6 separate regions of the Homo sapiens genome follow, and all the other regions are linked to region 3. The links are contacts of gene promoters, found by promoter capture Hi-C in blood cells and fetal thymus (Javierre and others, 2016). All regions are on one chromosome and are shown on one strand. Each heading gives the region's core, a stretch centred on a gene start or on the middle of the fragment in contact. The rest is flanking DNA. Distances are from core to core; before and after follow the strand shown.

Region 1 (4,341 bases), core at 1,784-4,283, 230 kb after region 3:
CCCCATCCTTGCTAACATTTGTTATTTTCTGGCTGTTTTTTTTTTTTTTTGTTTGAGACTGAGTCTCGCCCTTTTGCCCAAGCGGGAGTGCAGTGGTGCGGTCGTGGCTCACTGCAACCTCTGCCTCCTGGGTTCAAGTGATTCTCCTGCCTCAGCCTCTCAAGTAGCTAGGATTACAGGTGTGAGCCACCACACCTGACTAATTTTTGTATTTTTTGTAGAGACAGGGTTTCGTCATGTTGCCCAGGCTGGTCTTGAACTCCTGAGCTCAAGAGCTCCATCTGCTTCAGCCTCCCAAAGTGCTGGGATTACAGGTGTGAGCCACCGTGCCTGACTGTATATCTTCTTTGGAGGAATTCATACCCTTTGCCTATTTAAAAATTGGATTGTCTTTTTATGGTTGTATTGTTCTTTTATAGATTCTGGGTACTAGATCAGTGAGTTTTTATACTCTGTTATTACTATATAGTAACCATTTCTAGTTCTTGCATTCTTCCTGGACCTTTTACCCACCCAGGGTTTTGCAGCTTCATGCTTTGGTCATTCGGAAAATTGTTTCACTGAGTTATGTAGATCTTCCAAATGTTGTCACATTTCATGACACAGTATCAAAACTTACATTCATTGATATTGCCAATCTTGGCTGGGCGTGGTGGCTCACACCTGTAATCCCAGCACTTTGGGAGGCTGAGGCAGGTGGATCACGAGGTCAGGATATCGAGATCATCCTGGCTAACACGGTGAAATCCTGTCTCTGCTAAAAACACAAAAAATTAGCCAGGCGTGGTGGTGGGCGCCTGTAGTCCCAACTATTCAGGAGGCTGACGCAGGAGAATGGCGAGACATGGGAGGCGGAGCTTGCAGTGAGCCGAGATCATGCCACCGCACTTCAGCCTGGGCGACAGAGCAAGACACCATCTCAAAAAAAAAAAAAAAAAAAAAAAAAATTGCCAATCTCATCAGAAAAGCCTTTACATGTTAGGAAGTTATCTAGCTTTTGGTGGCAGAAACAAGTTTTCCAAAATTTAAATTTTTTCTGAAATTCAAATTTTATTACTGGAAAAAAGTAGTTTTCTTTTAGTGACAGACATTCATTTAAAAAAAAACAAAAAACACTTCTTTGGTTTTGAGATGATGTCTTAACATGTTTGCAAATGTGAATAACTGGTTTGTTAATGGCTCAGCTTGTAACTCAGTCAGGTGCACAGGTGCATGTCCCGAGGTCACTGATGTCATTTGGACCACAGGAGAGGTGCTTTGTGCCTGCTGACCATGTGGTCATGGAATACAAAAGAAGTTGTACTATAAGGTAGAGATTTAATAAAATATTTTCCATCTGTATCGTTTCCTTCAGCCTAAAAAACTTCTTTTAGCATTTTTTTTTTTTACAAGCAGTTCTACTGAATTCTCTCAGCTTTTTTGTTTTTTTTTCTGAAAAAGACATTTTGCTTTCATTTTCCAAATATACGGCTGGATATAAAATTTTAGGTTGACTGAATTTTCTTTCAGGTGAAAATATGGCTCCATTCTGTTATGCTGCTGGGGTTACTTTGTGGGATGAGGTGGGACTGGGTTCTTGCTCCAACTTTTTAAGACACTGACTTTCAACCGTTGTCTTGTCTGCAGCCTTGTCTCTGGTCTGAGGATGGGAGGCGTCTTGGGGTTGTTTGCAGGGCCCCTGCCTGGCATCTCTTCTCCAGCACTGGGGCTGCACTGGCTCTGCTCTGTGTAGGTTTCCCTTGCTTACAGGGTTCCCCTCTTGCCTTGTTTGTCCTGTGGATTTTCAGCTTTTAAATTATCTTTTCTGTATTATTTTCACAGGGATCAGAGTTACAAGCAAATGTTTGATTTACTCTGTTTAGTCTTCTTGATTTTTTGGTAATTTATATTTTCCTTTAAAATGTTAGTTTCATTAAAAATTTCAAATTAATTTACATTTTAAGAAGGATGTGTTTTTACGTGGTGCTTTTTTAGTGGCTTCGACTTTCCTCCAAAAATATGACTGTTTCATGTTATGTATTGGTATTTTCATTCATTTTCTTGATTAGCTTTACAGACTTTTTTTTTAAAAAAAAAAAAGAGGGGGGTCTTGCTGTGTTGCCTAGGCTGGCGTGCGGTTTTTGGACTCAAGTGATCTTCGTGCCTCAGCCTTCCAAGTGGCTGGGATGATACGTGTGAGCTGCCACACTCGTCCTTTGCAAAGGACTCTTTTAATCATGCATACAAAACTTGGTTGTGGATTTAAATATCCTTTCTTCTACTTTCTCATTGATTGAATTTTACATTATCTATATTTTTTTTGTCTTTATTTTTAAAAACAGTTTTTCGTACTCCTGATTTGATGTGCATGGTGGACTCCTTTGTCTGTGTTGTTTGATGACGAAGCATTCAGCTCTGTGTCTTTTTGTCTGATCATGGCTTTTACCTAGCCCCTTTAAGCACTGCTGAGTGTTTTTCTCCATACTTTATGATTGCAATTTTGATATTGAGTTAGTAATTACAGGAGAGAATACTTAAATTTCTAAGAAGTTGAATTAATTTTTAAGGGGTGTATAGTTAAACTTTTATAATTAGATTTGGTTTGGTATGATTTTTGCATGGTCTGGGATGTGTGACCCATCCTGTCACAAGTTAGGCTCTTTAGTGAGGTGTCTCCACCAGATTGTTTTGTAAGTGGCATTTGCTGTTGGTGTTGGAGAAGCTTAGCTGTTTGACAGTACTTGTGTGGTGAGTGACCACTGCCAAGATGTAGTGACTCTGCCCCGCAGTGACGGGGGAGCACTGCGCTGGCATTGGGGTGGGGGTCGGGGGCAGGTGGTTTCCTGGTGGTAGCAGGCGGACCTTGTTGTGGATCATGTGGAATCCGTGTACTTCTGTATCTGTGTAATTGGCCTAAACAATACCTATGTCTAGGAGTCAGAGGTGAATCAGGTGAAGTGGGGGTCTCTGGGGGATAATTGTGGAGATACAATTGTGCGGGACAGCAATTACCTCTTTAATGCATTTCTCTTCTACTTTAGGTAAATCTTAAAATGAGAGAGATAACAGAGAAAGAAGTTAAATTAAAACAACAGTTATTGGAAAGTCCAGCTCATCAAAAGGTAAAGGGTAAATTTAATTTTTCTGGAATGCACTAAGTTAATGTTGGTCCCAATTTTAAAGAATTCTGTTAGTTCCCACTATTTGCTTATTCTCTATTTTTACTCACCAAAGAAGCAGCTAGTCTCTTGGATTCACCTGGTGGGCTGATTCTCCACACCTCAGTGAGATGTGACCACGGCAGCCTGCCCCGCCTCTCCTGGGAAGGGGTGTTTTGTATTGCACTTTATGGTGCGTGAGGGTATTTGGGGGAATTGGGAAGCTTGAGTGAGGGACGTAGGGCCCACCTGGGTGCTAGCTTCCACAAGTCAACAAACAAGGGGGAAATTGCCTGTTGCTAAAGATGCCCTCGAAAAGTCCTTAAGTGGCTCATGAGGTACAGCGTAGCTGGTGGTGTACCTGTGTGCCTGTGCCATGATTCTGCTGGATGAACCCTACGTGCCTACTGAAGTAGCACGATGGCTGGGCTGCACCTTCCAGCCATTAGCCTTTTTCTTCCTCTGACGTTATTTTCTCTTTTGCAAGCACATGTGTGACTGAATTCACTCAGTTCAGTGCACACAAGATGCAGCCCGACCATCTATAAGGTCTCGCCTTTGAAGGGCAGTGTGCTGCCTTCCCCTGTTCCTTCTTCCCCCTCCAGTGGCACCAGCCCCTGGCCATGCATTTGTTAGCTGGGTGGGTGGGTGAGTCAGGCCGCCTGGTATGCCTCCCTCATCTGGATCTTAAGCATTGAGCTTCCTCCCTGTTCCTCAGATGGTCATGTTTAACACATGGGTACAGACTAAGCACTAGACCCTTCCCGCGTCAGAGCTGACTTCTTGCCTTTTGGTACCCAGCCCATACCAAGTTTCCGAAGTTTTCTTTGCTACTGCAAAGAATAGTGTTGTGGAGGTGACTCGTGATCTTCCACTTTAATCATCTGCTAATACAACATGACTATGGCCACGTACACTTAGAAGACTTTGCTTACCAGAGGCTCTCCCGCCTCTGCCGTGTAAACGCCGTGGGGAAGTGTGTGTTACCTCGTCCACACGTGGACCTGCTCTGCTGATGCTCCTCTCCTGCCTTCCTTCTCTCGCTTCCTGAGCAGTCTCCCTCCAAGTGGTATTGGAAGTTAGTGCCTGTAAGTGAACCCCAAGCCGCCAGCTGCCATCTACAGAGCCATCCTGTCGCGATCACTTGCTTCCATTAAAAACTGCTCGCACCCAAAACTGTTTTTTTGTTGTTGTTGTTTAAATG
Region 2 (5,006 bases), core at 1,453-3,952, 140 kb after region 3:
GGAGGCTGAGGCACAAGAATCGCTTGAACCTGGGAAGCGGAGGTTGCAATAAGCGGAGATCGCGCCACTGCACTCCAGCCTGGGTGACAGAATGAGACCCTGTCTTTAAAAAAAAAAAAAAAAAAAGAAGGAGTTCATAAAATTGCCAGACTAGAAGAGAGTACCCGCTAGTATAGCTGTTAAATTTTCCATTTCCTAGATCGCATGAAGATGGGTCCTCAGATGGCAGGTTGCATCAGGTACAAGCAGAAACGAAGTCACTACTCTTCTGGGGAGGAGCAGGATGGAGTGGGGTGGGGGTGTGAGGGCCTCCCTACTCCAGCGGCCTTGGTTGGGGCTTTTTTGCTGCCATACCCCAGCTTCTGCCGAGAACAAAGAAGCAGAGTGACACGGTCGTCCTAGTGCTTCCGTGTTGTTCCTGGTGTGCTGGTGACACGTGGACTGTGGGTTTTTTGGGAATCAGTATGAGAATTATTTTGGAAAACTGCATTTCGTAGTCTGTATTCTGAACTTGACAAATGAACTAGCCTGCAAACTTTAGGATCATGAGGAAGCACCCCCAGTATTTCAGGGAGCAGAGCCATTGTCAAATCCAGAGGCACTTGAGGGTTCTCTGCCCTGTTGTAAATGGCAGGAGTGTGTCTTCCTAGTAGCTGCGTCCCCCCAACATCCCCTCAGCCTGGCCAGTTTTGTGTGAAGGAGTGAGCCCCTGAAGCCGTCAATCCCTTTTTCAAAACCGTTTTCAGTCTTGAGAGTAACAGAAATTCCAGTTACTCTGAAAATGCCAGTGTTGAGAGGTGAAGTGTGTGCTTAGATTTTCTTTCCCAGCAAGCAGTTGTGTGTGCTGGGTGTTTCAGAGCCTCTGTGGCAGCAAAGGGTGGTGGAAAGTGAGCTGCCAGCAGGGCGTCTGCCCGGCCACCTGAGACGTCCGAGGACGGCCTGTCCTGGGGTGGTGCCCCGGCCCAGCTCCAGGCTGGGCCATGCTCCTGACCCACAGGCTGAGCCTGCTACCGGGTTTAGAAAGTGCCCAGTGAGGGTTTCATCCTTTTCTGATAGTCAGGTAATTCTACCATCAAACCTCAGGGGATCTGTAAGAGCAAGAAAATAGTCAGCCTTCTCTCCGTCCAAGCTCTGAGTTCTGAAGGGTTTTCAGGCCAGGCTATGGAAACTGTGGGTATTTTGTGAAACACAGAAGTGCAGCCCCTCTCCTCTCACCCCACGATTCCGGCTGGGGAGGCGCCATATTTGGTTAGGTGGGCACTGTTTGGTGTGGTGTGCGGTGCTGTGCTGTGCGGTGGTGTGCTGTGCTGTGCTGTCGTGTGTCGGGCTGTATGGTGCTGAGGTAGATAATAGAGTGGAGTCGTGGAGCTCTGGACCGACTTGGGCACGAACATGCAGGCACATGTGCCGACCTCAGTCTTCATCACACGGCACCATCAGTGTTTGCCATTCTTCACAAAATGGTGAGCCGACGCGCCTAGCCCCCGTGTTCAAAGGAAAGCAGGACTCCCGCAAGCCAGTGCCACGTGCATGAATCAGGGACAGCTGTGTGCTGTTTTGCAGAGAGGATGCTGGCCGAATTGAGGAGCAGGATCTACCCCTGCCAGCAGTTGGCTGTGAGATCTTTGTAATGGCAGGGTTGGAAGGGGTCATGGCCGTCTGCTCCAACTTCCTCCTGGAGTTTGCACTCAGTAGCTGTCAAGATGGCTTCCCAGGTCCCCCGTGAGCGCTGCTCGGAGGTGGCTGTGGTGTGTGTGAAGGGGATCCCCTCACTGCTACCCATGTGTTGCCTCCCGTTCCCTGCCCGGGTGTGGCAGGGTTTCCAGGGCCCTGGTGACTGCGTGCCCATTGGTCCACCTTCAAGCCGCCCAGGGGTGCAGCATGGCTGTTGCTTCGTGAGCTGGGCCACGCCGAGAGCAGTCATGCTAAGTGCCCCTCTTATCCCAATCTCGGGATGCAGCATGGCTGTTACTTAGTGAGCTGAGCCAAGCTGAGAGCAGTCATGCCGAGCGCTCCTCTTATCCCCATCTCAGGCTCTCTGTGAGCCAGTCTTCTTTCTGGGCAGCCTTTCTGGCCCCTTTCATGCGTCTGTGGAAAAAAGAAAAACAGCTACCCAAAACTTAGGTAGATCTTTAGGTCATCAGGAAACAATGGATCTGCTGTTTTCATTTAAAATTATTTTCCAGATCTTTCTAGACCAAAGAAGCAATTCTGGTGGCCGCGAATTGTCAGTAGGGTGTGGTATATCAGAGCTGGGAGCTTGCTTCAGGAGTACTCCATGGGCTGGGGATCAGCTCACTGGTGCTATGATGCTTCATTTGGCATCTACCATTAGTGGGAATTCTTTAATTTCATCCATGGTGTAATTTCTTAGCTCATAAGAAAACCCAGTAAATTCCTGGTGTAGCTTGGGATGCCAGGTCCTATATTATTAGAATTACGATTTACTTATTTTCTACCTTGAAATTTCTATTTTTCCCCAGTGTGCTCATGGGAGCTTAGAAGATCCCAAAAGTATAACCCATCATAAATTAATCCACGCTGCCTCAGAGAGGGTGCTGAGTGATGCCAGGACCATCCTGGAAGAGAACATCCAGGACCAAGGTAAGGCTGCTGTGGGCGGGCGGGTTGGCAGCAGGCATCGTGCACTGCTGGGGGCGCTGGAGCCAGGAGGGGGTGGTCCACCCACAGGAGTCAGTGTTCTGAGCTGGACACGAGCACAAAAACGAGATCGACTAAAAGCATTCTGTTTTTCCTTTATTAAAAAGAGTTCTGTTATAGAGTATTTGTGAAAAACAGCAGAAATTGAAATTGAACAAGCAGCAGGCATTTGAGAAGCCAAATGTGAATTTTGCTTTTAGTTCTGTTTCAGAGCAAAGCCAGAGACTCCAGGGGTTCTGCAGGTTTCACCTTCGTTGTGGTGATGTTGGCATCCCAGTGCAGTGTTAGACACACACATCCATGTAATTGCTTATGGTTTTGTGTCTGGAGGCACTTGAAGAGCAGACATCAGTTTTGTCTGTGTCATTCAAATAATGCCTTTAATTGTGGAAGTCCTTGAAGTAAGCTGTTTTGAAAATCCTGGAAGTATTGCTAACAGATATCCGCTGAGATGACCATCAAGCTCCAAGCCAGTGGGGGATGGGCACCGTCGTGGGCCGAGGATGAGCTGCATCTCAGGTTTTGACCTCTGAGGGTTAAGACTAAACTCTCCACCCTCACAGACTTTTTCAGAACTGAGCCGGTTAAAATGCCTGTTGCAGGATTGTCACCAATTCTTTGCACAATTATTGGGGCCGTGCTGTGCCTGCCTCCTGGGCCATGGGTCACCTGGGGGTTCGTGCCAGGCCTGGGAGCTTGTACCTCAGCTAGGGCCATGCAGATATCATGCAAAAGTGAGGGAAGGCTGGTGTAGATGCTTGGTTTGGGGGGACCAAAGGAACCCATGCTCTTTTGAGACAGGGTGTCGCTCAGTCACCCAGGCTGGAGTGCAGAGGCACAGTCAGGCTCACTGTTGCCTTGACCTCCTGGGCTCAAGCAGTCCTCCCACCTCAGTCTCCCAAGTAGCTGGGACTACGGGCATGTGCCACCATGCGCAACTATTTTTTATATTTTCGTAGAGATGGGGTCTCGCCATGTTGTCCAGGCTGGTCTTGAACTCCTGGGCTCAAGTGATCCGCCTGCCTCGTGCTGGGATTACAGGAGTGAGCCACTGCACCCAGCTGAAGCCCTGCTCTTCTTCTTTTTTTTTTTTTTTTTTAAGATGAAGTCTTGCTCTGTTGCCCAGGCTGGAGTGCAGTGGTGCAATCTTGGCTCAGTGCAACCTCCGCCTCCCAGGTTCAAGTGATTCTCCTGCCTCAGCCTCCCCAGTAGCTGGGATTACAGGCATGCGCCACCACGCCTGGCTAATTTTTGTATTTTTAGTAGAGATGGGGTTTCACCGTGTTGGCCAGGCTTGTCTTGAACACCTGACCTCAGGTAATTTGCCCGCCTCAGCCTCCCAAAGTGCTGGGATTACAGATGGGAGCCACTGCGCCCGGCCGAATCCCTGCTGTTCTGTTCTCAGGGCATCCAGCACCCTTTATGCCATTTTGTGGATATGAAGTGATAACCAGTGTGTTGGATATACGTGTTGTTTTTTCTAGATGTCCTATTATTGATAAAAAAGCGTGCTCCATCACCACTTCCCAAGATGGCTGATGTCTCAGCAGAAGAAAAGGTAAATTTCAAAGTTTGCAATTGGGGACCTTGGTTGGTAGAAGTCTACATTTAAGAATTACAGGCTGGGTACAGTGGCTCGCGCCTGTAATCCCAGCACTTTGGGAGGCCGAGGCGGGTGGATCACGAGGTCAAGAGATCAAGACCATCCTGGCAAATATGGTGAAACCCCGGCTCTACTAAAAATACAAAAAAAATTAGCTGGGCATGGTGGCTCATGCCTGTAGTCCCAGCAGCTCAGGAGGCTGAGGCAGGAGAATCTCTTGAACCCGGGAGGCAGAGGTTGCAGTGAGCCGAGATCGTGCCACTGCACTCCAGCCTGGCGACAGAGTAAGACTCCATCTCAAAATTAAATAAATAAATACAAACTTAAAAAAAAAAGAATTATAAAGAAGTTCTCTATACTAGTTGTTCACCAACCCACGCATTCGCCATTTACAGTAGATGTGGTTATAAGGGGTTCTCTCTCCCGGCAGAGCCTGTTTAATCCGTGTCAGTCCTGGTCCCTCCCTGCTCACGGGACCAGCACGGAAAACCTGCCTCTGAGTTTTCTGAGACAGAGAGGAGGGTAGGGACACATCCTGCGTGACGGTTCACTCCCGCGCTGCTGTCCGCCTTCACCTGCGTGTGCTCCTGTTCCCTCCTCTTTTCAAGCAGCCAAGTCAGTCCTGACAGAAAAACGGAGGAAAGTGGGTAACCAACCACCACACAGAATAAGGGCTGCGCATGCAGAGAGTGGCCGGTGAGGGAGCACTCGCGACAAGCCCCACCTCACACCGCACAGCCTC
Region 3 (4,818 bases), core at 204-2,703:
GAGCTCATGCCCTGGGTGTAGGAGGCACTCAGAACCCTCCTACCCCACCTCCTTCCCACAGTAGACTGCGGGGCGGGTTTGGAAGTGGCAGTGGTGGGGGGAGGGGGGTTGGGGTGTGGGACCTGGGACTGCATTTAGGTCTAGATGGGACTCTGTGGGGAGAGCCCAGAGTCCCTGCGGGGTTCCATACTCACCCCCATACAAGGCAAGCCAGGGAGTGAAGTGTGTGTGTGTGTGTGTGTGTGTGTTCTGGACGCAGAGCTGAATAGAACCTAAAGTTGGGGTCAAGGGCCAGTCTGTGGCCAAGATCAAGGGCCTAGCTTGAGGTTGGGGTGACAAGAACCTGGCCAAGCTTCTGATGATTTGTCCAGGGAATGACCTTGGCTGACTGTGCCAGAAGGGCTGTAGCCCCAGGTTTCTGATCCCCAGAGCCCCAAAGGCGTTCTCTGGGATGCTGGTGGCCATCTCCTTCTCAACCCTTCTCCCAGCGCCCTCGCTCGGGACCACTGAGGCGGTATCACTCCATTCTCCTGCAAGGACCCTTGAGCGTGCTGTGGGAGTGAGGCTGGCTTAGCCTCTGAGGACCACTGCAGCCTGTCCTGACCTCAGGCCCCAGGTTAGGGGGCAGCTGAGGAGGGGTCTCTGGGTCTTTCCGGGTGTGTGGCCGTTTTATTTCCGTGCCCTTGTTTTAAAACTGCACCTCTGTCCTCAGGAGCGTGGCCTTGGGCAGATGGAGAGCTGCGTGGCCGGTGCCGGAATGACTGTCAACGCCCCAGTGCGCCCGGATCACACCAGGCCTGAAGGCAGCGCCAGGCCCAGTCCAGGCAGCTTGCAGTTCCCGGGCCGCAGGGACGGGCGCCGGAGCCCCGCAGACGTTCGCCCAAGGGCGCTCCCGTATCCTCGTCTTTCACGGCCCGCCTGAGCGTCCAGGGCGGCTGCGGATGCGCGCACTTCCCCCGCCCGGATCCCGGAGGCTGCACCGTGCGGACGCGACTGCCGCGGGCAGGGCGCGCGCCGGGGGCGGGGTAGGGGGGCCCGGGGGCTCTCCCGGGCTTAGCGAGTCCGGCCGAGGCCGGGGCCCGGGGAGGGCGGAGGGCGGCGCTCCAGGTCCTTTCCCGACCCGGCCGCCGAGCTCCGTCCTCTGCGCCGCGGCGTCCGGCTCCCGCCGGGTGTCCCGCGCAGGGTCGACCGCCGGCAGCTCCGGAAGGAGGACGCGCGAGGGGCGAGGAGCTGCCGCCTCCCCTCCCCAGCGCTCGGGGTTCCCCACGCCCCGCCGGCCCCCACTGGGGACCCTCCCGGCCCCCGGACCCCAGCCCCGACCCCGGGAGCCCACCTGGCTGCCAGTGCGCGCGCGCGCGCGGCCGGCGCGCTGTCCCTTTAACGGCCCGCGGGCACCTCCCCCGCCGCCGCCCCGCCCCCGCCGCGGTGCGGCCGCCGGTGCTGGGCGAGGTCGGAGAAAGTCCATGGGAGCCGGAGCGCCGGGACGCCAAGCACTTCCTGCCGCGGGCGGCGCGCCGCAGCTGCCCAGGCCGGACCGGGCCGGGCGCCCGCAGGTACCGCCAACTTGGCGCGCGCGGCCGCCCCCGGGTTACGCCGCCGGGCGGGGTCGTCCCACGGGCCGGGCCCGCACTTCCCGCAAACTCCGCGGCCGCCCAACTTGGCGCGAGCCCCCTGCCGCAGTGCCGGCCGCGCGGGGCGGGTGCGGCCGAGTTCCGCGCCGGCCCGGGCGTGCGCGCGGGAACCGGCCTCGGGAGCCCGCGGAGGGGGGCCGGGCGGGGCCGGGGGGTCCCGGCGGAGGCGCCCGCGACCCCGGGCCGGGACGCCGCGCCGCGCGTTCGGGGAGACCCCGGCTCCGGGCGTCCCGGGGCGCTCCCCGCCGCCTGCTGGGTTTCCCTGGATTTCTGGGGACCCGCGCGGCCTCCCCAGGGACCCGACTGGCCGATCCAGCCCTCCGGGTGGGGAAGCCGGGGCAGGACTGGCCCGGGGCCAGGGCGGAGGTACCCACCCCTCCCGGCGCATCTGCGCAGCTGCCTGGCCCAGCCGGGCCCGCGCCTCGCCCTCCCGGTCCAGGTGGGCCCGTTCGTGGGTCGTCACCGCCTCCCGCGCCTCCCCCACTCGGGCCCCAGCCTGGGGAGAAACTGGGGTCCGGCCGCAGGGGGAGGGGGCTCTGCCTCTTGCCAGCTTCTGTGCCTCTGCGGAGCTGAGGTCGGGGGGCCCCAGCTCCTTCTCTAAGAAACTCAGCGGAGCCCGGGGCCCGCCGCGCACCCCGCACGGCCAGGGCGGACCGAGGCCTTCCGACGGAGTTTCCTGCTTCTCTTGCTGGGATCGTGTGGGGTCGGAGGTCAGAGGTCACCTCCCAGCCCCTCTGCCAGGCTCTGGGGGAAGTTTGGTCTTGGACTCTCGTCGTGGAGCCGCTTAAACCTGTGGGTCTGAAGGCCGCGAGGCCGGGTCCCTGGAGTTGGCCTCCCAGGCCGTTCCACTCCCTCCCCCAACCCCCGCGCGGGGCCTCCGGATTGGAGGTGTTTCACCCACGTGCTGGTGGGCCCGTCTCCCTGGGCCGCTGGGTGCCCTGAGCTGTGTTCTCTGCTGCGCGTTCCTTCCTGTGTGTGGCGGGGGTGCTGACCCGGGGGTGCCCAAGGCAGCCCGGACTCCCATCCCGTGGAGCTGCCTCCGGGAGCGCGTGCACCTTGGTGTTCCCGCCCGCCAGCGCGGCCGCACTCTCCTGCCAGAGTCCGTGTCCCTCCAGGTCGCCCCTTCTTCTCACCCACCCCTCTTTTCGTCTGGCAGGCTCCTGACCTCCTTCCCTCCTGTTCTCCAGTGGGACACTCAGCTCAGCATTCTGCAGGGTGTTTTAGCCTGTAGCACCCCCCAGCAGGGGCGCCTAGAGTTAGGTCAGGGTTCAGGCAGCCCCCGCCCCACCCGCCACCTCTCAGCCACCCACCCCTTCTTCTCCCGGCCACCGTTGGAGCACCCCTCTGGTCCTCTGTGGGGCCTTTCCCAGCCCCTCCCTTAAAGAGGCCTCTTGGCGTTTTCCCCTGGGGTCACTGTTGGGTGGTAGCTGGGCCAGAGTCCAAGGGGAGGAAATAAAAGGAGCTGCCACCCAAGGTGGTGGCCCCCTGTCCTTTCGGCAAAGCCACTTGGAATGGGCACAGAGAGTGGAACAAGATATCACTTGTCACTTCTTAGTGGCCAGGGATCCTTTCGCAGTGGTCACACCCAGGGCTCGATGGTGCTGGCCCTGGCCTGGCGGGAAGGCGGGGAGGAGCCACCCGGGAGATCTCCTGCTGGGAGCAGTGGGAGCTGGGCTGCTACAGGCTGCGAGAACAGGCTCTGTTCTTTACCACCGGCTGCTGGAAGGGTTCGCAGGGCTGCTCTGCCCTGGGCAGGGGGCTAGTGGTGACTTTTAAAAAATTCTTCAATCCTCCCTTTGTTTTCCAATTAAAGCATGAGGCTGCATTATTCATGAAACAACAGTGACGATCTTGGTGCTGAGCGGTTCTTCCAGGCCTGCACTCCTCTTGGCCTCTGCCTCCGGAGTCCTGCTTTCCTGGTTTGTGGGCAGTGTGGTCTCCCAGGCCCGAGGGATGGAATGGGGAACCAAGGTGTTGTCCTTTTCGGGATGTTGAGTTCCCAAGGTTCCACCTTGTGCCCCTTCCTCTGAGGTCTGTGCCTCTGACCTGTGTCCCTGGAACGCACAGGGCACCGAGTGCCCAGTGGCCCCAGCCACCGTCAGTGGGGCAGAGCCCATGTTCCTTCCTCAGCCAGCCCTGTTCTAGCCACCTCCACACACTGTCCCCAGGCTGCCTCTCTGCATCTCACAGCCCCTTGGGGTCACTCCATCCCCTTTGCAGGGTCACGCAGTGGGTTCCGAGATCCAGTTGGACTGTGGCCGGTGGGATGAGGGTCGGAGTCCACAGGGGGGCAGCAGGTGGCACCCCTTACCCCAGGATACACCAGCATGTTTCTCCGGAGAACCAAGGCCTTCTACAGACCCCAGTGTAACGAACACATTTGGGAACTTGACTATGGGGCCCCCTGACTCTGCTGCTCCTCCGGCCCAGTCCACCTTCACCTTGGTAGCACATGTCCCTGCCTCAGTGGCCCAGGCTGACCAGCCTCCCATTGTGGTTCTGAGGACAAGGTAGGCCACCTTCCACTTCAGGGTGACATTTCTGGCCTGGGCTGAGGAAACCTGGGGCTGGGCTTCCAGGCGTGGCTCGAAGGAGAAGCAAAGCCCTGTGGTGTGAGGCCGTGGAGCGCCCTCCAAGGCAGGAGAGAAGTAGCGCTAGCCCGTCTGGACGCTGGACCTGAGCCGCCGTCTGATGCATGTGGGCAGGTGCGGGAGTTTGTGAGGTCTGACTGGGTCTGGTCTCACTGGGGGCTGATGAGGGGTCTTGGGAACCTGTGTAGAGCTGGCTCACTGGGGCCTCTCACCCCATCTCCGGTCAGGCTCCCCGGCGGTGAGTGTCTGCAGACCCAGCTCCCTGGGTCCTGGGCCTTCCCCGAAGTGCCCTCTCCCCAGCATTTCGTTCCTTTCCTGGCACCCTCTCTGGGCACGCCCTTGGTCCTCCCAGAGGTGGGCAGTCGGGCCTTGGGTGGGGGAGCTTGGCCAGCGTTTCTCTACTCTTGTCTCCCCACTGGGCCCCAGTTCAGAGCTGTGTGTGGCCCCCACACCGGCCTCCCTGAGGCGCCCCCTAATCCCCAGGTGGATCTCGTTTCCCTTTCAGCCTGTCCAGAGTCACAGAGGAGATGTGACTGGAAGGTTGTTTGGGCCTTGGCTGTGGGGGCCGGGGAGCGAGGTTACCCAGGCCAGGGGCT
Region 4 (4,448 bases), core at 1,007-3,506, 210 kb after region 3:
TGTGGTCTCATTGCATTCCTTGTGTGCCCGCCTAAGCCTGTCTCGCTCTGCTGACAGATCCCGCAGGGCCCAGGTCCTCCCAGCGCAGGCACGCACAAGAGCCTGGTGAGCTAATGAATGAAACATCCAGTTTGCCTCTTCCGCGCAATTCTGAACTGCTGTCACTTGCTGAAATTCTCTTAACAGGGTCATTTTCATGTTTTCCTCTCGCTCCTACCCACCCCCCTACTGGCTGCTTCCTTCCCTAAGAAACTTCTCCACCTGCACATCCCACTGCCCCACTGCCCCACTCCTCAGTGCGGGACTGGTGTCTCCTGCACCCCAGTCCCCCAGCACTCATCCTGTGTGACACCCTCCACATTGCGTGGAAATTACCTGTTGACTTTTCAGTTGTCTTACGAGGCTCAGCCTGAGAACAGTGACTTTATCTCTTCCTGTTTGACTCCCTGGCATTTTTGTACATTTTCTGGCTCACATGGGTACTTAATAATTGTCGAATGAATGTGTATTAATTCTAACAGTCTTACTGGTTTGTAGAAAAAACAACAAGAAACTATTAGAAATACATTGAAGGCATCACAAAGTTTTTTTTTTTTTTTAAGTAGGTATTGATTTTGATAGAACGTTAAACGTTCTAGAACTGTGCACATCCAGCTCTCGCAGTAGTTGCTTTCACTGAAGCCAGTTACTCATGGACAAGTGCAGTGTCTGAGGGCAGAACTGCCACAGCAGGGCCATGGAGGAGTGTGGCCACTGTCACCCAGTTGGGGGTCTGGCCAGGGTCTTCCTTAGGCCGGATGGAAAGGAGTAACATACAGTTAGGAGGGCTTCACCACAGTCTGAAGCTTGTATCTTTAGTAAGTGCGTCATTTTCCTTTAACTCTCATTTTCCTGCATCTGAAATTTATGTGAATTAGTTGTGTTATGCATATTCATATATGATTCAAAAAGGTGATTATATGAATCACTTTATATTGATTAATTTTAAAAGTGGGTCACCCTATGGCAAACGTTTCTACTTGGTAGATTGTAAAAGAGAAACTTAAATCAGAGCCATGGTTGCTTTTTCCTGTCTGGCCAGGTTTCTGCATCTGTGAGGTAGGCTCTGCCATTCTCCCTGGGGCTCACCCTGCTTCCATCTAATGCCAGCCCTCCACTTACGTGCCTGTCCCGTCTCCCACTCTGCACAGAGCCATCACTCTGAGGGGTCCCCTGGGGCCTTTCTCCTCAGCTGTGCCAGTTTCTGCTCTCCTAGGGGGACTGCATCACAGTTGTCTAAGTGGGAGGAGAGGGTGGCTTGGACCAGGCCGGTTAGGCTCGAGGTGCCCCCAGACATCTACATGGAGATGTCAGATAGGCAGTTCAGGGAAGTGATCAGGGCCAGAAATGTACATTTGGGGATGACTGTGTGTCTGTGGTATTTCTAGCCATGAGACTGAATTAGGTCATTAGGGAGGAGTGAGATAGGAAGTGCCCCTTCCAATATTTGGAGAAGTGAGGGGCAGCTGGCCTAGGAGATGGGGATGGAGCAGGCAGCGAGATGGGAGGAAGAGGCCAGGTACCCCGAAAGGAGAAAGGCAGCTCCCTCCAAGAGCCCTGACTAGGTGGGCTGCTGGTGTGGTCAGTTGAATAAGAGGAAGGCTGAGAGTGACTGTCGCATCTTTCCCCGCAGCCGGTGTGAACTGCTGCAAACGTTTTCAGGTTATGGGATCCCTTGCTCAGTGCCCTCCCCTGACTTCCCTCCACGGCCCATGGGTGGAGGGAACTTGGACAAACATGGGCCCACAGGCCGCCTGTTTGTCCCTGGCCACCTTGCTCTTGTTTCCTGGGACGTCTCACTCCGGCGTGTGCGGGGTGGCTCTGTGCTCACCTCTGCAGGTCAGCTTTCCTTGAGCAGTTTGTAAGGACAGCAGAAGTCTTCCCGTTGTGCTTGGCATTGGGGCCTGTTCCTTGTGTTACTGCTGTGCTCTGTTGTATTTCAAAAGTTCCAATGATTTCAGATTAGGGGGCTACTCGATGTGGTCAGCAAGTATAGGATTTGAGTCTGTTAACATCCACTAAGCCAGCCTTCCATAGCTGGAGCCCTGGCTGCCCTTGGGTTGCCGTGATGACCTAATCATTGTGTACAACCATGCTTAAAACAAAAATGCTGTGTAAACGGTGACTGCTGCCGTTTAGAAGTAAACCAGCTATGAGGTGCTCAGATTGTGGGGAAATGACCAGACTCCATGGGACCATAATGAAGTGACTCAGGGCTCAGGAAAATAGTGAAGGAAGCCAGAAGAGATGGCAGCAGAGAGAGAGGGGTGCTGTGGGGAACCATCGCCACAGCTGGTTCTTCCCCTGGGGAAGAGCTTAGGAGAGCTTGGCTCGGAACACAAGACAGGTTTGTTAGTGTCCCCATGAATGTCTCTAGTGTTACTGGTTGTCTGAACGCTAGGAGTCAGTGGGGTTTCTTCATGAGCTGTTCTGTGGAGGTGGTAGTCCTTTCTAAACTCTGTGGAGGTGGGAGTATCTGCACCTCCTAGCAGAGTGTTGGGCGCGGGGCACATTAAAGACCTGGGGGTCACGTGTTTCCGAAATGTGTCTGACTGCAGACATCCCTCGTCCTCCGTCTTTAGTGGGACAGCCGTTGATGTCTTGTGAGACAGTGTGAGGGGCATAGTGGCAAGGCTAGAAAAGTGGGTGAGGCCAGCTGTGACACATTCGGTGTCCCGTGTGTATGCTGCTCCTGCGCTGTTTGTGTGGGAGGCGGCGTATGTTGCAGCCGGAAGTATACAGTAGGCTCTCTGGATCAGATTGTGTGGGTTCAGGCTGGTCTCTGCCTCCTGTGGCCTTGAGCACTTACTTTCTCTGTGCCTCAATTTCTCATTTGTAATGTGCAGATGGTAGTCCTCATTTGAGGGAACTGCAGTGGCAAGATTAAGTAGCGTGGTTCATGTCAAGAGTTTGATGCTGCCTGGTCCAAAAATGGATAAAGGCTGATTGCTGCTGCTGCTGCTGTGTCGTCATGGTTACAGTGGCACCACGCCTGCCTGGCTCCCTCTTCTGTAAAGACCATGGGTGTTCACCCTCTGTTATCACTTCTGATTTTCATGTCAGAAAGAGGATGCTGGGCTCCCTCCCCGGGCTGATGCCAGCCCTGCCCACATGCTGTCTCCGCTGGTGTCCCCAGGCACTACATGGTCCTAGCCTGTGCTGGTTTCCCCTCAGCCCCATTAACACACTCAGGGCTCCCATGTCTACCTTCTTACTGCTGTTAAGTTAGGACAGTCATCCTTTGAGGTCACGGTGGAGGTCACGAAATGATTTCAGTTGTCTGTGTTCACAGAGTAGTCTGAGATGCTACAGTTAGTTGCCTTTGTAAGTACAGAAGACAGTAGAATTATTGAAAAGCCTAGAGCCTTTTCACGTTGTTAGTTGCTCATTTAATCAATCAATCAATTATTTTTTTTGACACTTGGTCTCCCTGTGTTGCCCAGGCTGGAGTACAGTGGCACAGTCATAGTTCACTGCAGCCTTGAACTCCTTCCTTTGGGTCTTGTGTGTGGCACTCACCTGGTCATCCCCTCCCTGTCTTAGATAACATCCCTGAGGACCTCAGAGACCCTTTCTACGTTGACCAGTATGAGCAGGAGCACATTAAGCCGCCTGTTATCAAGCTTCTCCTGTCCAGCGAGCTGTACTGCCGTGTCTGCAGCCTCATCCTGAAAGGGGACCAGGTGGCCGCCTTACAGGGACACCAGTCTGTCATCCAGGCCCTGTCCCGGAAAGGGATCTATGTGATGGAGAGTGATGACACCCCCGTGACAGAGTCCGACCTCAGTCGCGCACCCATAAAAATGGTGAGTGGTCTGCGGTGGCCGCCCCCAGGGGCCATCCTCTGGAGCCGTGGGCTCTCGTGTGGCGCACCTGGTGCATGGATGGTGTGAACACGGTGTGCGGCGAGGTGGTGGAGACCCGTGCTTTTGCACACTGGCGTTCCTTAGGAAACTGCATATCTTTTAAAGCACATGACTGTTGTGGAGAATGGGGAAAAGAGAGCTTTCATTGAGCTCTTTTTCTCATTGGGAATGCTCTGTGAATGCTGAGATTGGAGTGAGGCCTGTTAATAAAAATACTTGAAGCAGACTTTTTACAGATGAGAAATGTAATTGTTGCACCCATTCTGTTAGGTTGTTTCATGCATACTTTGTGCTAAAATAACTCAGTCTGCCTTTTTCTCCCCCAAGTATCCCACCCCCATCTTTCTCTGAAGCCTTGCTACTGGTGTGCCTTTTCCAGAGCGTTCTGGGTCAGGGCCATTCTCGGTGCCTCCTGCACTGCCTTTGTTTGGTTGCTCCCATGGCGTTCCCGGTGAGACTGCGGGTGCCGTGCGGTGGTTGAAGAGAGTGTCATTCCTGTCGAATGAGGAAGCTGCACTAAGGCGTGGTGCAGCTGTAGCAGGT
Region 5 (4,445 bases), core at 645-3,144, 150 kb before region 3:
GGGAGCCCAGGCAGAGGGTCCTGTTGGCTAAAAAGCCAAACTATAAAATACTGAAAGAGGTTTGTTCTGAGCCAATAAGTGTAGTGGCCATGGCCAGGGGAACAGTGTCAAGAGGTCCTAAGAAAGTGTGCTCTAGGCAGTCACGTTAATTTGATTTTATACATTTTAGGGAGACAGAAGTTATAGGCAGAGAGACATAAATCAGTACATGTAAGGTATAGGAAGGGGTAGGTTTACAGATCATAGGTGGATTCTGACTGGCAATTGATTGAAAGAGTTAAGCTTTGTCTAAAGACTTGAAGTCAGCAAAGAGAAATGCTTGAGTTAAGCTAAAGGGGCTGTGGAGGCCAAGGTTAAGTAGATGAAGCCTCACAGGCAGCAGCCTTGGGGAGAATAGAGGGTAAATGTCTCTTTTCAGACCTGAATGCTGTCAGACTCGTTAAATGTCTCCTAGATCCAGGAAAGACCTAGAAAGGGAGGGAGATTCTCTACAGATGCAAATTTCCCTCACAAAAGACAGCTTTGCAGGACCATTTCAAATATGTCAGGGAAATAAATGTATTTGGGGGTGAAATATTTTGATTTCCTGCAGGGTGTGCTATTTGTCATGTGGTGCTGTACCCGAGTCAGGCTGGAGTTTGGTGTCGTTGCTGCTGAGGCTGTGCTGTCTGTCTGTGATCTCTGTTTCATCACGCTGGTCAGCTCTGCCTAAACTCCAAAGGGAGGTGATGTAACCAGGCGTGTCTGACCTCCCTTGCCGTCAGGGCCTGGAATTTCTTTCCTCAGGTTGCCCTGGGGTCTCCTTGGCCAAGAGGGGGTTCAATTCAGTCAGTTAGGGGACTCAGGATTTTATTTTTGGTTTACAGTCCTGAGAGCCAAGCTGTGCCCATGAGGCTTGTGGGAGGTAGAGTCCGGGTAGAAAGGGATGAAAGGCCCTTGGCACTGAGGAGTCCCCGGAGCTGTTCTAAGGCTGGGACTCTCAAAGTAGGGCCACTTAGGGCCTTGTTAGAAATGCCTGCTTCTCCACAGCCCCAGCCCAGACCTGCCAGCTCAGAACTGTCTGCTTGGCGCCTGGCTCCCTGTCTGTCATCCCTGCGTGGAGCTGTCCCACAGGGATAGGGCGCCCATTGCCCGTGGCAGTGCAGGGGTCTGGCTGCATGCAGGCATTCCCGTTGTCAACATTCTCATGTTTTCTTATGTCCCTGTTGACCTGACTCAGATCAGTCACCTGTGGCCCTGATCAATCACCTGTGACTTAGGTCATCCTGCTGATCCCCTGGGGGCACACAGGCCATGGCTTGGGCCCCCACTTCTACCTAGAGTGTCCAGCCGCCTTCTCCCACTGGTCCCCCTGGCCAGCGCCCGCCACGCCCTGCGTTCTTCATGCCTGTGGCTGCTGGAGAGGATGGTTAGGTGTGGGCTCTGCTTCCCAGGAGCCTCCAGCTGGAAGGAGCAGGACAGGCCAGGGCACCTTTGTTTTCCTCAGAAATTTGGATTGAACTTTAGCTCTTGACTGGCTTTTTCAAGGCTGGGAAAATAAATGTTTTTTCTTATAAGAAGGTGGCTTAAGAAACAAAAGTTGTACTGTTTGGTGTGACCAAGTGTCATTCTAGTGTTTGTGGAGATTTGGCTTAAGCCTGTCACTTCTAAGTACTTTGCAGAACAAAACCTTGTTGGGTTCCTGAAGATCTGCCTGGCAGTGATGGTTGCTGGGTTTGTGATGGAAGATGAGGCACCAGGGCCTGGGGCTACACTTTGGCCCGTCTGACCGGTGAGATCTCCGAAATGCCTCTGCAGTCTTGAGTGGACAAGAGGGTGCACCCTAAAGGCAGGGCCTGTGTCCCCGTGCGCCCTCTGTGGCCCTGGTGCCTGTTCCCTCCCATCTCCTTCACTTGGTCAGCCTGAGAAAACAGGGCAGGCCACCACCCACAACAGGCTGAGTCCTCCTAGACCTGCCCTCAGGAGGGCGGGAACGCTTATGTTGTAGATGATAGCACATGAGGTTGCGTGGAACAGGCCGAGTCCTCCCACACCTGTCCTCAGGAGTGCGGGGGCGCTCATGTTGCAGGTGATAGCACGTGAGGTTGCGTGGGATAGTCACGGTCACGCAGCTGAGTGACAGGCCGGGATGGGTGTCCAGGTGTGGGTGACCTGGAGCCATGGCAGTTCATTCCTGTGTCTTTGTAGAGGACAGGTGGGGGTTGGGAGCTGGACACATCCGACATCTCTTGAAGGAAGGGTAGGGCATTCTGTGATTGCTGCCAGCTCCTCTGTCCCACTTGGTCTGGTTTCTTGTCTACTCGACTAGGCTGCAGGCTTCTTGGAGATGAATTAGAACTTGGTGTTCCCCACAGGCTCATTGTCCGTTTACTGGAAAAAGAAACAATAAGGGCCAGAGGGAGGGGGACATGCAGGTGTCAGCGGGCATTTGGCGGGGCTGACGGCCCGTGAGAGCTGCCAGGTGCTCACTGGACTCGGGAGGATGGAGAGGGTGGAAGGAGGAAGAGTTGGGCAGTGGAGGCCTCCTGTCTCCTTACGGGCCCAGAAATGGCTTAATGTAGCCCCGCTGTGGCGACCACATGAGTATTTTACAGAAAGGATGGTGCATCGGAGCAGCCGGGCTCCCCGCTGGCCTCCCCAGTGGCTGTGGTTGGTGCGTCTGAGACTACACCGAGAGACCCAGGCCACTTACTTGTTGTTGAAGTAAGACGGGATGGTTTGCTAAGAGGGCCTTACAGCCACGTCCAGGGAGCCGTCTCCGCTGTGTCATGCCGGTCGTCGTGCCATGGGGTGACCCAGGTCATAAGCACTGCTTGGGCTTCCCTGACAGAGGACGGGCTGAGGGACTGTCATTCCCTACCAACAGATAAACAGCATTGGAATTGCTGTCACCTCGGAGCACCCTTCGAGGCTGAAGAACGTGTAGTTTTGGTTTACCAGAATTGAGTTAAATGCTGGGGATCAAGAGTCCATGGGACCCAGCCCTGCCCTCAGTCCCCAGATGAGGCGACCGTAGCGTGTGCCCGGGTTTTCTCAGACCAGCCCTTGGCAACTTCTAGGTGATTTGTGTTAGGCTCTCCTGGTCGCTAGGTGGGTTTCATTTCTACCCAGGCCTGTTATTCCAAACTTGTGCCTTGAACTTGGAGCTTAGCTAAGAAGACCTTTGCTCAGCCAAGAGGGGGCTCCACCCAGAGAGGGTCTTCTCCAGGGACTGGTATGCGGAGTTCGAGACCCCAGCATGGCCCTGACTCAGGAAGGAGAGGCTGCAGTGGACCTCTGTCCCTTAAACACAGCTCCCTAGTTGCCTTTCAACTTGGGAGATTGTTTTATCTTTACTGTAATCATTTTCTAGAACGATTTGATACTGGACTATACATTAGACTTCTGTAGACTTTTTCATTAGAACGTGACAAGCAGTAAAGAGTTAACCTTGTTAGATTCAGTATTAGAGTTATTTGACAAGCACATTTGAAATAAATGTTAATCTACTATATATAGAAGCTTAATTATTTCCCAAGTATTTTTAAGACTGGAGTCCTAAAATAGCCAGGCTCTTGAGCAGAAGTGAGAATAGGCCTGCGGTCTCATTTCTGCCTCCCTTTGGAACCCCCTGGCTGTGCTGGGTTGGGCACCCCCGCCCCTGCCACACCCTGTGCCTCTCAGCTGGCTCTAACCCCAGAGGCCCAATGAAAGCAGGCCATTTGCATTCTGCTTTAGAGGTTCAGAGCTAGACAGGTGGGCAGAGCAGGAGAAGGGGAGGGTACCCGTTGAATGAGGCCAGTGCCCTGAAGCTAAGCCTTTTACGTGTTTTGTATTTGATTTGATAATATGGACTACCATATCTTTTGTGTTGCCATGAATACCGTCCATCTGCCGAGTCCTTGCCGGTACTCCTGGCGCCTGTTCAGCTGCTGAGGGAGGCCTGTGTAACTGAAATTCTCCCTCATCTGCTCGGCCTTCCCTGAGCACACGGCCTGGCATTCTTTCAAGGACAGACAAAGGCGACGTGGGGTGCCCGCATGCCCCTTCACCAGGACTGACCCTGAGTGGGGTGGTGGTGTTGGGAGCGTAGCTCTACTGAGGCAGGTCGAGGTGCTGCCCCTGCGGACTGGTGGATGGAGCTGGACTTCCCTCGCCCTGCAGTGTGTGCAGGGGCTCTGCGTGAATTCACGCTCCGGGATGAATTTGCGCTGGAAATTCATCTGTTGGAGGAACAGCAGGGAACAAAGCAGGGAGGTCCCCACCTGAGGAAGCCTGTGCTTTAGAGGGAGTAGCAGACAGTCAACAGGAAGACAAATAAAACAAGGAAGTGGCCGGGGCAGTGGCTCCCGCCTGTAATCCCGGTACTTTGGAAGGTGGGAGGATCACTTGAGCCCAGGAGTTCAAGACCAGCCTGGGCAACATAGCAAGATCCCCACTCCTGTGGCCCCAGCCACTTAGGAGGC
Region 6 (4,649 bases), core at 1,610-4,109, 170 kb before region 3:
TCAGTAGGGTCACAAACCACAACTTCACATCAAGAGACTGCCTGTCCCTTCCCGCGTGGTCTTGTGGATTCTGCGTGAAGCCCTGTGTGTCCGGGATGGGATGGGGACACTAAACTGCCCTAGACCTCCTACTTTTATGAGGCCCTCCGGTAGAAATGGCCCCTGACACGGGGCACTCAGACCCCCTACATGACCCAACCATGGCGCTTCCTTCCTCAGAGGTGGAGGGCCCTGACGGAGCCCTCTCCCAGCTTCCCCTGGCCAAGTTCTTCCCTCCGGACAACCCCACCCACCAGGTACGTGGAGAGGTCCCCTGGGGGAGAGGCACAATTTCAGGACCCAGCACGGCCCTGGTAGTGGGCCCCGGACCCAACTGTCCTTCCACTAAGAAGGGCCAAGGCAGGTCCTGGGTTGGGAGGTTCTTCCGGCGATCGCGTCACCCGCTCTTCCAGCTGACAGCTACCCAAGCCCGTTCCTCCCGCCCTGGGTGACAGAGGGGGGCAGGCATTTCAACATGGTGCTTTGGGCAGGGTTAGCCCCCGCCCAGGTTGTATATTTTAGGGCAGGTGGCCTGGGCTTCCTGGATCAGGGCTGGTGGTGAGGCCGAGATGCTAAAGATCCTGCCTGCCCCGCCAGCTCACAGTCGGGGAAGCGAGGGCGGCATAGGGGGATGGGAGGGGCGGGCAGTCCGAGAGGGCTTCTCGGAGGCGGTGGCCTGTGCTGGGAGCGGTCTAGAAGCTAGGCGGTGACGCGGCCCACCCTACTGGAGCCCCGCGAGGCCCGGAAGCACCGAACCCAGAGCTTTAGGGGCCTTGGGCCGCTTCAAGCTGCAGATGCTGGAGCGGAGCCTGCGGGAGGAGGAGCTGCGAGCACAGCACCAGGCCGCGCTGCTGCGCCTGCGAGAGATGGCGCTCCAGGAGAAAACGCTCGCGGAGCTGGCCTGGCTGGAGCATCGACGAGGGTGAGCGCATGCGCCTGGCGCCGGCCCCGCCCCGCCGTAGCCCCGCCCTGCTGTAGCCCCGCCCTGCTGTAGCCCCGCCCCCTCCCTGCCCCGTCCGGGTCCCGCCCGTGGCCCCGACAGCGTTTTGAGAAACAAGAGGTACTGGTCCAAACAGTAATAGGTGTTTGCTGAAACTTACATAAGGCAGTAAAGTACTCAATACACAAATAAAAAAATACCCCCATCGTTCCAAAGGTGACCTCTGAGATCATCTTTGTGCATACTTTGTTTTTTTGTTTTGTTTTGTTTTGTTTTGAGACAGAGTTTCGCTCTTGTTGCTCAGGCTGGAGTGTAGAGGCGCGTGGCGCGATCTAGGCTCACTGCAACCTCCGCCTCCCAGGTTCAAGGGATTCTCCTGCCTCAGTCTCCCGAGTAGCTGGGACTACAGGTGTGCGCCACCACGCCCAGCTAATTTTGTATTTTTAGTAGAGATGGGGTTTCTCCATGTTGGTCAGGCTGGTCTCGAACTCCCTACCTCAGTTGATCCGCCAGCCACGGCCTCTCAAAGTGCTGGGATTACAGGCGAGAGCCACCACGCCCAGTGCGGATACTCTGTTTTGGGGAGAAACACACATGGCTATTTCAACTTGCAAATGGGCAGTACGTGCTGTTTTGTAACTTGCGTTTTCAATTTATATGTCAGGAAAACCTTTCTGTGTAGCTACATAACCGCTATAACACACAGGGCGCACCGGCGTAGAGACAGGGCTGTAACTCCCTTCGCTTGTCCCGGATCTCCGGGCCTCTAGGTTGTCTCCAACGTTTTGCCATTATTAATGAAGATAGAGAGATCATTTCCTTAAGGTAAAACCTTAGAAATGGAATGACCGGGTCAGTGAGAATGCATCTGGAAGCCGCTTGATACTGCCACATTGGTCTCCAGAAAGGTGATTCCAGTTAACATCCTCACCCGGTGTCTGAGCGGGCCAGACTGAGGGTGTTTATTCCATGATGGGTGGGGGGTGGATGTGGGTGACCCCCACCTCCCTCCCCAGAGGACCCACTGGCCTGGGCTGGGCCTTCAGGGTGGCAGGGGCGGCTCTCGGCTAGCCTTTGTCTCTTTAGACCCAAAAGTCCAAAAGTGGCTGTGAGGGGTGGAAGAGTGACAGCCCGGGTTGGGCCATCTGGCCACCCCAAGGCTTCCAAGCCTGTCCACGCATGGCTGCGTCCTCCCTGGTGCCTGCACCTTGGGAGGGCATTCCAGGTTGATGTGGCCGACCAGGGCTGGCTGTGTCTGTGACTTTCTATATCCACTTGCACGGGCTGTCAACATTGGCAGTGATGTTGCCACCTCCCCCCAGGTGCCTGGACAGCAAGAGGGACAGAGCTGTGCTGGCCGCGCTGGTTGAGAAGCAGCAGCAAGCCCTCAGCAGATTGGAGAAGGAGCAGGTGGGGCCAGCACAGGCCTGGTGGGTCAGGGTGGGCGGCTCACAGAGGCAGTCGTGTCATCTTCTTGCCTGGAATCTGAACATTCCCCAGCAACAGAGCTAAAGAATTCCCAAGCCCTTGCCACCCTCCAGGGCCATACAGGACCCCGAAGTATAGAAGGAGTGTCCACGGCCCAAGAGGGCATCACGGCCAGGGTGGAGCGTGGTCCTGTACACAAGGAGTGTCTGCGGCCTTCTGGGGGCCTCGTGGCCAGAGTGGAGGGTGGCCCTGTGGCCCTGGCTCCAGACCAGGCTCAGCCTTTTGCTGGATGTCACCTTGAGCAAGTGGCTTTGTCTCTTGGAGCCTCAGTTTCCTCCTTGGAACCAGAGAATAATTGTGGTCTCTGTAAAGCAGGGGGTTGGGAGAGTTTAGTGCAGCCAGCACTTACCCGGGTGGACGTGTGCCATGTACGCCCTCAGAGGACTTTCCCAGCTGCTCCGAGCCCAGTTCCCTCATCTGAAAAATGGGGAGAAGCCTGATGTGCACATGCATGGGGGCTGGGAGGGTGGTGCAGGTGAATCCCTAGCCGCGCCTGGCAGGGAGGGGTCTCCATCCGTGGCTGCACCTGCCTTCCTGCCATCGTTGTCACCAGGGACTGGAGGAAGCAGACCCCCAGGGAAAGTCGGTGCTGGGGGCACATGTGGAGGGGGGAAAAGCTGCCAGAGTCAGGGCTTTGCCTGCGGCAGAGAGCAAGGCTGAGGGGCAAGCCTGAGAGCCAGGACGAGGACCCTTGCCGGCCCCTGCCCAGGTCACAGGCTCAAGGGCTCCTCACAGGTCGCGGCCGCTGTGCCTGCATCCTCACTTCAGTGCCCCCATGCTGTGGGGCAGAGGCTGGCGCTAACACCCTTGGTACAGATAAAAGAACCTGGCTGGGTGAGGCAGTTCATCCGTAATTCCAGCACTTTGGGAGGCCAAGGTGGGAGGATCGCTTGAGCCCAGGAATGTGAGACAGGCCTGGGCAACATAGCAAGACCCCGTCTCTACAAAAAATAAATCTGCCACTATAGGTGGCCAATGCCTATAGTCCCAGCTATTTGGTGGACTGAGATGGGAGGATTGCTTGAGCTTGGGAGGTCAAGGCTGCAGTGAGCTGAGCTTGCACCACTGCACTCCAGCCTGGGCAACAGAGTGAGACCTTGTTTCAAAAAAAAAAAAGGTGAGCTGGGGTGGGGGACTACTTTGCCCACGACCCTCTGCTGGGAAATGGGGTCAGTGCAGGACCTTATGTTGACTGGAAAGCCCCGGGATCCCCATCCCTGCCCTGGATGCCCTGTACATACTACGACCTGGGGTGTCAGGCATGGGGCATTACAGGCAAGGGAGCTGGGGGCGGAGACCCAGGCCACAGACCCATGCACAGGTCCTCTCAGATACGGAGAAACAGGAAAAGGCAGGCACCACAGAGAACAACGTGAGCCGGGGAAACAAAAGGGGCTTAGAAGGGGTCTGCATGTCACATGGCAACGACGGGGCCTGGCAGAACAGGCGCTGCCCAGGGATCCCAGGCGGGAGGAGCTGGAGCTGGCCGGGGCCAGGGACTCCCAGCCACAGCCAGGCTGCGTGTCGCAGATAGAGATGCCGTGGTGGAGGTGGGGTCTGGGACTCCCCAGTGGGGCCATGGACCAGACACCCGCTTGGCAGAGCCTCGCTTTCCCGTCTCACCAGTGAAGCTGCTGTCTCCCAGGGCGAGTGTGCAACGGCCCGGCCCGGCCCTGGGCTCTGTGCAAGGTTGTTCCGAGGGTGCGTCCACCAGGGACGCTGTGGGGAACAGAAAGAACAGTTGTAAAGGAGTGACGGGGTGGGGGCAGTGCCTGGAGCCTGCAGAGAGGGAGGGCGAGGCCCAGCCAGCCTGTGCCAGCCCTGCGTGGGCCCTGGGGAAAGAGTACCTGCCTCCCTCCTGCCGCCCGCAGCTGCCTCCTCCACCAAGCCCAGGGAAGCCCAAGGCCATGGGGGTATCCTAGGCCCGGCAGGAGGGGCGGGCAAAGGCCAATTGGAGGGAAAGGGAGGCCTCCCAGTGTGAGGGCCAGGGCATCCCCCCAGACACCCCTTCCCTTTTGTTGGCCTTTTCCCCTGCTGGCTCCGGGGTTATGCTGACATCTGCTTATTTTGCCTGCTCAGAGGGAAATCCAATACCTGAGACACACGCAGCTGTTCAGGCACCGGGACAGGAAGCTGCTTCTGCAGCATCAGAGGGACGTCGTCTCCATGCCGGGGCCTGTGG

What was found. Contacts are between HindIII fragments. The CHiCAGO score rates a contact against its expected background, and 5 or more counts as called.
Region 1: a fragment that was not itself captured here is called in contact with the fragment with the promoter of NACC2 in region 3 in 7 of 17 cell types (megakaryocytes, naive CD4 T cells, monocytes and 4 more); the score reaches 9.6 in megakaryocytes.
Region 2: a fragment that was not itself captured here is called in contact with the fragment with the promoter of NACC2 in region 3 in 2 of 17 cell types (megakaryocytes and M0 macrophages); the score reaches 6.0 in megakaryocytes.
Region 4: a fragment that was not itself captured here is called in contact with the fragment with the promoter of NACC2 in region 3 in 1 of 17 cell types (M1 macrophages); the score reaches 5.5 in M1 macrophages.
Region 5: a fragment that was not itself captured here is called in contact with the fragment with the promoter of NACC2 in region 3 in 8 of 17 cell types (total CD8 T cells, naive CD8 T cells, megakaryocytes and 5 more); the score reaches 9.7 in total CD8 T cells.
Region 6: a fragment that was not itself captured here is called in contact with the fragment with the promoter of NACC2 in region 3 in 2 of 17 cell types (megakaryocytes and naive CD4 T cells); the score reaches 5.3 in megakaryocytes.

The regions. Positions count from the first base shown.
Region 1 is chr9:135,865,216-135,869,556 of GRCh38, reverse strand. CAMSAP1 (calmodulin regulated spectrin associated protein 1) reads left to right here. Exons shown (of 17, transcript NM_015447.4): 4 at 3,021-3,101. Among named protein-coding and RNA genes, the nearest start is that of CAMSAP1, 40 kb to the left of the region's middle. The HindIII fragment of the contact is 660 bases long and covers 2,704-3,363 here.
Region 2 is chr9:135,952,893-135,957,898 of GRCh38, reverse strand. It overlaps UBAC1 (UBA domain containing 1), which reads left to right. Exons shown (of 10, transcript NM_016172.3): 2 at 2,484-2,604; 3 at 4,146-4,219. Among named protein-coding and RNA genes, the nearest start is that of UBAC1, 6.0 kb to the left of the region's middle. The HindIII fragment of the contact is 9,505 bases long and covers 1-5,006 here.
Region 3 is chr9:136,091,924-136,096,741 of GRCh38, reverse strand. NACC2 (NACC family member 2) reads left to right here and starts at 1,453. Exons shown (of 6, transcript NM_144653.5): 1 at 1,453-1,553. RefSeq lists silencers at 991-1,090, 1,411-1,540 and an enhancer at 2,746-3,437. The HindIII fragment of the contact is 6,619 bases long and covers 355-4,818 here.
Region 4 is chr9:135,882,213-135,886,660 of GRCh38, reverse strand. It overlaps CAMSAP1 (calmodulin regulated spectrin associated protein 1), which reads left to right. Exons shown (of 17, transcript NM_015447.4): 2 at 3,583-3,845. Among named protein-coding and RNA genes, the nearest start is that of CAMSAP1, 23 kb to the left of the region's middle. The HindIII fragment of the contact is 2,817 bases long and covers 848-3,664 here.
Region 5 is chr9:136,239,301-136,243,745 of GRCh38, reverse strand. The region is part of intron 1 of QSOX2 (quiescin sulfhydryl oxidase 2); the gene reads left to right. Among named protein-coding and RNA genes, the nearest start is that of QSOX2, 4.3 kb to the left of the region's middle. RefSeq lists a silencer at 3,660-3,789 and an enhancer at 4,005-4,445. The HindIII fragment of the contact is 3,219 bases long and covers 285-3,503 here.
Region 6 is chr9:136,263,696-136,268,344 of GRCh38, reverse strand. CCDC187 (coiled-coil domain containing 187) reads left to right here. Exons shown (of 26, transcript NM_001378188.1): 15 at 220-296; 16 at 834-961; 17 at 2,302-2,389; 18 at 4,547-4,649. Among named protein-coding and RNA genes, the nearest start is that of QSOX2, 20 kb to the right of the region's middle. RefSeq lists an enhancer at 639-708 and silencers at 509-884, 949-1,108. The HindIII fragment of the contact is 7,726 bases long and covers 1-4,649 here.